Regions from separate parts of the Homo sapiens genome. Here regions 1 and 2 are each linked to region 3. Evidence: promoter capture Hi-C in human tissues and cell types (Jung and others, 2019). All regions are on one chromosome and are shown on one strand. The core of a region is centred on a gene start or on the middle of the fragment in contact, and the rest is flanking DNA. Distances in the headings are between cores, read along the strand shown. Region 1 has its middle 4.9 kb from the start of PRMT2. Region 2 overlaps S100B (S100 calcium binding protein B). Region 3 holds the start of SLC19A1 (solute carrier family 19 member 1).

Region 1 (2,700 bases), core at 60-2,559, 1.1 Mb after region 3:
CTCCGCCTTTTTGTTCTGAGTTACGTGACAGGTGTGTTAAATTCCCCAACTACAATTATGGATGGTTCCGTTTCTCCTTTGAGTTATATTAATTTTTGAATTTCTGGATTTTATATTTTGAAGGTATGTTATAGACACACAAATCTGGGGCTGCTATTTCTTTCTACTGAATTGACATTTTATCATTATGAAATAATTCTCTTATTTCTGGTAATACCATTTGCATTAAAGTCTGCTTTTTACAATATCAGTATGATTTGTGTTTTACACTATCAGTATGGTTTGTGTTGGTGTGGTATTGTTTCACTCTTTTACTTTCAACTAAATGTTTCTTTATAGTAAAGTATGTTTCTTATAACTACCATTTAGTCAAATCTCTAAAAGAGATACTTAAAAATATTGGCATTGGCCGGGCACGGTGGCTCACACCTGTAATCCCAGCACTTTGGGAGGCTGAGGTGGGTGGATCACTTGAGGTCAGGAGTTCGAGATCAGGCAGACCAACATGGTGAAACCTCATCTCTACTAAATATACAGAAAAAAAAATTAGCTGGGAAGGGTGGCACACGGCTTTAATTCCAGCTACTCGGGAGGCTGAGGCATGAGAATCGTTTAAACCCAGGAAGCAGAGGTTGCAGTGATCTGAGATTGTGCTACTGTACTTTAGCCTGGGTGACAGGGCTAGACTCTGTCTCAAAAAAAAAAAAAAAAGGCATGTTTTCTATCTTTACATTTAATGTTGTTACAAATATAGTTGGGTTTAATTCTGCCACCTTGCTGTTTATTTTTATTTTATTTTTTATTATACTTTAAGTTCTGGGATACATGCCTAGAACGTGAAGGTTTGTTACATAGGTACACACGTGCCATGGTGGTTTGCTGCACTGCTGTTTATTTTTCATTTGTCTTGTCTGTTTTTTATTTCTGTAGTACTCTCTTACTGTTTTCTTTTCCATTTTTAAAATTTATTATTTTTCTTTTATCTTCTATTTTGCTTGTTGTCATACATCATTGTATTTTTTGAGATCTCATTATGCACTCTTGACCTGCCTGAAGTTATTAGGATACTTTTGCTTTGTCCTAACAAAGATCCAGCACGTTACAATTGTTTATTTATCCCCCTTGCTCTGTGTGCGGCTGTTGGCATATATTCCACCTCTACACATTATAAACCTCACAAGTCACAATTATTGTTGATTTAAGGACAAATGTTAAAAATACATTTATCCATTTATTTACACTTTCTAGTACTCTTCTGTCCTTCCTGCAGTTATGAGATTATCTTATTTTAGCCTGAAGTTCTTCTTTTAGCATTTTAGTGCATGTTTGCTTCAGTCAGATTCTGTTTATCTGAAAATGAATTTATTTTGACTTCCTTTGTAATGGCTATTCTTCTTAGGCTTAGAATTATACATCAGCAGATTTTTCTCTTTTTTTTTTATCATTATACTGTAAGTTCTGGGATACATGTGCAGAATGTGCAGGTTTGTTACATATACACGTGCCATGGTGGTTTGCTGCACCCATCAACCCATCATCTACATTAGGTATTTCTCCTAGTACTATCCCTCCCCTAGCCCCCCACCCGCTGACAGGTCCTGGTGTGAGATGTTCCCCTCCCTGTGTCCACATGTTCTAATTGTTCAGCTCCCACTTATGAGTGAGAACATGTGGTGTTTGGTTTTCTGTTCTTGTGTTAGTTGCTGAGAATGATGGTTTCCAGTTTCATCCATGTCCCTGCAAAGGACATGAACTCATCCTTTTTATGGCTGCATAGTATTCCATGGTGTATATGTGCCACATTTTCTTTATCCAGTCCATCACTGATGGGCATTTGTGTTGGTTCCAAGTCTTTGCTATTGTGAACAGTGCTGCAATAAACATACGTGTGTGCATGTGTCTTCATAGTAGAATGATTTATATTCCTTTGGGCATATACCCAGTGATGGGATTGCTGGGTCAAATGGTATTTCTGGTTCTAGATCATTGAGGAATCGCCACACTGTCTTCCACAATGGTTGAACTAATTTACACTCCCACTAACAGCGTAAAAGCGTTCCTATTTCTCCACATCCTCTCCAGCATCTGTTGTTTCCTGACTTTCTAATGATCACCTTTCTAACTGGTGTGAGATGATATCTCATTGTGGTTTTGATTTGCATTTCTGTAATGACCAGTGATGAAGAGTTTTTTTTCACGTTTATTGGCCGCATTAATGTCTTCTTTTGAGAAGGGTTCATTTCTCTTCATTATTTTTTCTCTAATCTTATCTTCACACTTTATTTCATTAAGTTGATCTTCAGTCTCTGATATCCTTTCTTTTACCTGATTGATTTGGCTATTGATATTTGTGTATGCTTCATGAAGTTCTCGTGCTGTGTTTTTCAGCTCCATCAGGCCATTTATGTTCTTCCATTTGGGGCTGGGTTTATAGTTTTGTAACCCCTATGCCAAATGTTGACACCTTATAGTAATTGGCAGGGATAAGTAGGAAATTGCTTGATAAATAAATGCAAACAAAAATGTATGCTGGCAATTCTTAAGACATTTCTAAATTACTTTGCCACTATTTTTAAAGCTAACTTATTTATTAAAGATTTTAAGTAAACTTAACATTTGACTAGTCTTTCCCTTTTTCTAATAAAGTATTTTATTTGAGCACTTTTATTTTTCTTTAATTAATAAATAAATAATTTATTT
Region 2 (2,700 bases), core at 21-2,520, 1.1 Mb after region 3:
ATGGTCCGCAGCGTCCAGAGATGGTGGGTTCCTGCAGCCCAACTTCTCAACAGCACCTTCTCACTGCAAGTCAACAAATGGGGTCCTCAGCTTGGCCCCAGGGTCTCCACCCTGAGAGACCAACACTGCTGGCAGGGCCAGATTTGCGAAGTGGCTGTGGCCCAGAATCTTGTGGATCAAACGGAGAAATTGATGGAGCACAGAAAATTTCTGTGGCTGAACTGGCCATGGAAATGGCAGCCTGGGCAACAGGTTCATGAAAACAGACTTTTCACACCTGGTCCTGCTCTCCAGGCCTGAGCGAACTCCATGTGTTCCTGGTCAAAGCTGGGGGCGGGTTTCCCCCACCCCCTTGCCCGGGCCCATCCCCTGTCCACCTGGGGATGCTGGAGGCAGCCTTTGGGGTAGGCCAGGCCTGTGCTGGCCACCAAGCTGTGGCGACTACCACCACCCACTCATGGAACTGGAAGGTGCCTCTGGGTGAGGGCGGGCCACACTCAGCTAGGGATTGCCAGGAGAGGACGGTTGGCATTTACAGCCTGGAACTAACGGCAGTTGATTGGATAAGTCCCCCCAGACCCCCTTTGGATGGTGGAGGAGCCCCCGTGTGCTCAGAAGCTGCCCTGGGAATCCCTGAGGGATGGTGCTGGAGCCAAGCTCCTTGGAGGACCAATGTTCTCCCTATCTGGTTTGGAAGCAGAGTAGGCTTCTGGGGACTTAGTCACTTTAGGATTCTTGGATCAGTGTGGGCAAAAGAGGCTCTGGAAGGGCCGATTCAACTTCCGGCCGAGGCGGCAGAGCATCCTCTGGGGAGGAATGCAGGTGGGAGGCGGGCACCCGAGCCAAGGGCAGCCCAGAGCTGCCCCCCGGCAGCAGCGCCCCTCCCGCCCCCCAACTTAAGGTCGCACCCTGGGCCTCCCAAGCTTGGTCTCCTGCCCGCCAGCCCAGAGCATGCACCAGGACCAGCTTTGCAGGGCCCGGTGCGAAATGAAAACATCGCCCTTTGGCCAAAAGTAACCACGAATTTCCAGAAGGCGAGAGCTGAGCGAGAAGTGAGCACAGGGCCCTGGGGACTCCCCAGGTGGCTAGATGTGAAGTGGCCTCGCTGGGTCCCCTCCGGCCTCTCCCAGGCCCCTCTCACCAACCCATCTCTCGGCCATCACAGCTGTGGTTCCTACCTCTGCCCCACCCAGCCTCGGGCCCTGCGAGCCTCCGGGCCTCCCACACTGCCTGGGACAGGCAGGACTTCCTGTTTTACCCGCTACTGTTCAGAAGGCACAGAGGGACCCTGAGGAACGTGAGCTTTCTGAGATGGAGGCCAAGGACCACGGGGAGCGCAGTGAACACCGGGAATGGGGCTGGTGGCCCAGCATGCATTGTGGAAAGGCACGTGACTGCCCGGGACCATTGGCAGCTCCCCTTCCTGGTGATTGGCTTAGGGAAGAACATGTGACCCAACAGGCCGGAAGTCCCCTGTGGAGTGGCTGGACGCCCCCGGGGAAGCCTCCCCCTAGCGGGGGCAGAAGGGAAGCCGCGTTTTTTGCTTGCGTTGCCTTTTGATGGCGCTGGATCGCTGTTGCTGCGCTTTTTTTTTTTTTGAGAAGGAGTCTTGCTCTGTCGCCCAGGCTGGAGTGCAGTGGCGCGATTTCGGCTCACTGCAACCTCCACCTCCCGGGTTCAAGCGATTCTCCTGCCTCAGCCTCCCAAGTAGCTGGGAATATAGGCACGCGCCACCACGCCAGGCTACTTTTTGTATTTTTGGTAGAGACGGGGTTTCACCATGTTGGTCAGGCTGGTCTCCAACTCCTGACCTTGTGATCCACCTGCCTCGGCCTCCCAAGCTGCGCTCTTTTTATTGAACGCAGGCCCTCGCGGTGGCTCAGAGCCCCCGGTAGTGCCCTCGGAAGCCGCATGTGCTGGAGGCACGTTGGAGGCAAGGATCCTGCAGCCGCGACTTGAATCGCATGGGTCACGGAGGCCACGCTGGAGCCCCCAGAGCTGGCTCGGATTGCGAGTTCTGATGGAGTTGCTTTTTCCAGGAGCGCTGCCAGCGCTGAGCGTTCACCTGGTGATCAGGCGCATCCCGGGAAGCAGGCCGAAGCCACCACGCCCTTGCAGGGCCACACCGGCCAACCAGCTGTTATCTGCATGGATGAGGAACGCATTTAAAGAACAGCAGTGTTTTCAAATAATGCTGGATAAGGCTTTGTTTTTTAAAGGTAGTGGAAGTTTTAAGGGTGCCCCGGGGTAATTTCTGTAGTCAGGGTTCCCTCCGGGTTAGGGTCTACACGGCCATGGCGGGCTGCACGGTGCACGCTTTATCACTGAGACCTGACTCCTAAGTTACTGTTAACAAGAGTCCCTGGGGCCAGTCAGCTTACACACAGGCCTAATATAGCAGAAAGAATGATGCAGGCCGTTAAAACAGCCTTTGGAAAGAGGTTTTCAATTTTTCAATCACAAAGCAAATCAAGCTTCCTAATTAGCTACAACACGGCTGGAAAGCTCAGCTCCTACTAGGCTGCAAGCCCTTGCTGTCTGCTTTCTTGCATGACCGTCTCTGTTACAGGAAAGGTTTGGCTGCTTTCTAATCTCACTCATGTTCAAAGAACTCGTGGCAGGCAGTAGTAACCATGGCAACAAAGGCCATGAATTCCTGGAAGTCACATTCGCCGTCTCCATCATTGTCCAGTGTTTCCA
Region 3 (2,700 bases), core at 7-2,506:
TATCTGGAATTATAAAAATCCACCAAAGCCCCTTCGGAAAGAAAGCAATTAGCAATTGCAACAAGCAGTGCACAGGTGGCACCCAGGCAAAGGCGGCCAGTGAGATGCAGCCTGGCTCCCAGGCCTGGACAGGGCAGGCAGGTGCACTGGGCCAGAGGCACCTCGGCTCTGCTGATTGAATCTGGGCTGTGCGGGGATCCTCGGGTCTCCGTAGGGGGAGGCCACCTCTTTACAGGGCGGCCAACAGGCGCCTCCAAGGACTTTATCCCACCTTCCCTCTGGATGCATTCTGGATTTCGGGGCCAGCTTAGTTGGCCTGTGTCCTGAGGCCAGGCAGGCCAGACTCCCCAGGACAGGAGTTTCCGATGGACAGGACCCTAGGGGGATGGCTTTCCTGCTGTAGCGGTGTTGGAAGGACCCACTCGGGAAAGGCTCCAGCGGCTGTCCAGGCTCTCTCTGAGACGCCTCGGGATTGCTCCGCTGGATCCGCACCCACAGCTGCTCCAAGGGGAAGTTGCACCTACAAAGCTTCTGGCACAGGAGACAATGGTCTGGAGATGTGCCAGGGGCCCGCCCCACGCGTGGCTGGCAGGGTTCACCCACCGGCTGGCCCGTCCCGAAGCAACACGTGCCTGGGCGCGAACGCCGGATCCACGCTTTCCTCCAGACCCGGGGGTGGGACTTGGCGCCCCAGGATGACGCGGAGGGCAGGCTGGGGGCCGGGACTCCCCACCCCATTCGCAGGCTGCGGCGGAAAGCGAGCGGCGGGAAACCCGCTGCACAGCAACGGTTCTGCCAGGCGCCCGGGCCACCGCGACCCCCGCGGAGACCCCGGCCCACGCCCCGCACCCTCCCCAGGGCCCCCCAGACCCCAGGCTGCAGACCGCAGACCCCGGCCACGCCCCGCACCCTCCCCAGGGCCCCCCAGACCCCAGGCTGCAGACCGCAGACCCCGGCCCACGCCCCGCACCCTCCCCAGGGCCCCGCGGACCCCAGGCTGCAGACCGCAGACCCCGGCCCACGCCCCGCACCCTCCCCAGGGCCCCGCGGACCCCAGCGCCAGCCCCCACACTCACCTCACAGGGCCCTGCAAACCTCGGCCCGCGCCCCGCACTCACCCCAGGGCCCCGAGACACCCCGCAGCCCCCGACACGCGGCCCCGTGGCCCCGTTCCCCACCGGTACCTGCGACTCGGCGGGGCGGCTGCCCTGGGGCTCCCGGACCCGGCCCCGCGCACGCGGACTCCGGGACTACAGCGCCCACAAGGCGGCGCGGCGGGCGCGCGGCTGCGGGGTGGGCGGGTCCGTCCCGCCGAACGCGTCCTGAGGGCGGGGCCTCGCGCGTGGCCGGGCGCTGCGGCAGGAGCGTCCCCACGGGGCACCCTCCCACCCACGGCCGTCTCCCAGCCCCGGCGCCGGCCTCTCCCCACCCGGTCACCGCCGGGGTCACGCGGCCCCTCGTGCTGCGGCCCTACCCCTGGGGCCGCCCCCTGACCCCGACCGCCCCTCGGGCCCCCACCCCCGCCGGCGTCAGCATCCTGGGGTGCCACTCGCGGAGGTGTCGGTCCCTCGGGCGGGCACCCTGCCATCCCTCTCCCCCGCGTTCTTCCCACCCCCGGTCCCCTCCTGACCCCCCCTCCTCGACGAGGCCTTGTGCGTTTTCCTTTTGGCACCCTGGAACACCTGCATTCCTGGCCGCAAGCTGGATCCGGGACGCGGGTCGGGCCCACGCGCCCTCAGGGGTGGCCCTGGGCCGCCTTCGTGGGGCTCCAACAGGGACACGCACAGCCTGCTCTTGGGGACCGCACGGCCCCGAACTCGGCGCCCCCGGGACCCCGCCGCCCGCCCTCCTGCCTGACCGTGACCCGTACGGGCTTGTACCAAGGAGCAAGCCGGATCCAGGACGTGGCCCGGGGCCACCAGTCCCCATCCCAGCAGGGACAGCCCGGGGGAGACCCGCGCAGGCCTCGCAGACGGCAGCGCAGTCACACTCAGGAAGGGGGGCCTGGGCCACTCTCCCAGGAAGGCGTGGGGCTGCGGCAGACAGCACCGCCGAAAGCCCAAGGCCTGTGCAGGACACGGGGAGAAGTGGGGGGCCTCAGGGTCACTTTCCCCTGGAGTTACCCAGGGCCTGGCTATGGGGAGGGAAGCCAAGCCGAGGGCTGTGGGGGCCCCAAGGCTAAGGAGGAGCCAGGAAGTCCACTGCACAGAACAGAAGGGGACGGCCACCGTGGTACCCACAGCTCAAGAGTGCGGGTCCCAGGCGAGGGGTGAGTCTGGGGCAGCAGCCCCTGGAATGTACCCCTTCCGGAGTGTAGACAGCACAATCCGCGACCTGCCTCCTGGTGTTGCGGGGGTGCTCTTGGTCTCCCGCCCACCAGCAGGGCAACCCCACCAGGAAGCCAACACAGGGCCCTTGCCCTAAATGGCCGCCTGCCCAAAGCTCTGGCCTGGGCCTTCTTTCCAGAGTCCTGAGTGTAGCAAGCCACACGAACAAATCTCAAAGGAACTTAAAAAGGATTTGTTGGCTGGAAATGGGGGATCTGGGGTAGCTTGCAGAATTTAAGGGAACACTACAGGATGGAGCGCCTCACCTGGAGGGACCCCCTGCTTTGTGGGAGCCCTGGCTCTCTCCCCTGTACTGGCCTTCTCCACGGGTGGGCAGAACCTGGCCCTGCTGGAAGACAGGAGGGGCAACGCG

Evidence for each region. The method cuts DNA at HindIII sites, captures the fragments that hold promoters and counts their contacts. A contact is called where the count stands out against the background at its distance.
Region 1: a contact is called between a fragment that was not itself captured here and the fragment with the promoter of SLC19A1 in region 3, in 1 of the 25 tissues and cell types used here (dorsolateral prefrontal cortex).
Region 2: a contact is called between a fragment that was not itself captured here and the fragment with the promoter of SLC19A1 in region 3, in 1 of the 25 tissues and cell types used here (dorsolateral prefrontal cortex).

What each region holds. Positions count from the first base shown.
Region 1 is chr21:46,629,378-46,632,077 of GRCh38, forward strand. No RefSeq gene overlaps it. Among named protein-coding and RNA genes, the nearest start is that of PRMT2, 4.9 kb to the right of the region's middle. The HindIII fragment of the contact is 6,587 bases long and covers 1-2,700 here.
Region 2 is chr21:46,596,770-46,599,469 of GRCh38, forward strand. It overlaps S100B (S100 calcium binding protein B), which reads right to left. Exons shown (of 3, transcript NM_006272.3): 3 at 1,835-2,700. The coding sequence ends at 2,594. Among named protein-coding and RNA genes, the nearest start is that of S100B, 7.0 kb to the right of the region's middle. The HindIII fragment of the contact is 6,650 bases long and covers 1-2,700 here.
Region 3 is chr21:45,541,184-45,543,883 of GRCh38, forward strand. It overlaps SLC19A1 (solute carrier family 19 member 1), which reads right to left and starts at 1,257. Exons shown (of 6, transcript NM_194255.4): 1 at 1,185-1,257. RefSeq lists silencers at 691-750, 1,101-1,410, 1,451-1,530 and an enhancer at 1,385-1,897. The HindIII fragment of the contact is 13,138 bases long and covers 1-2,700 here.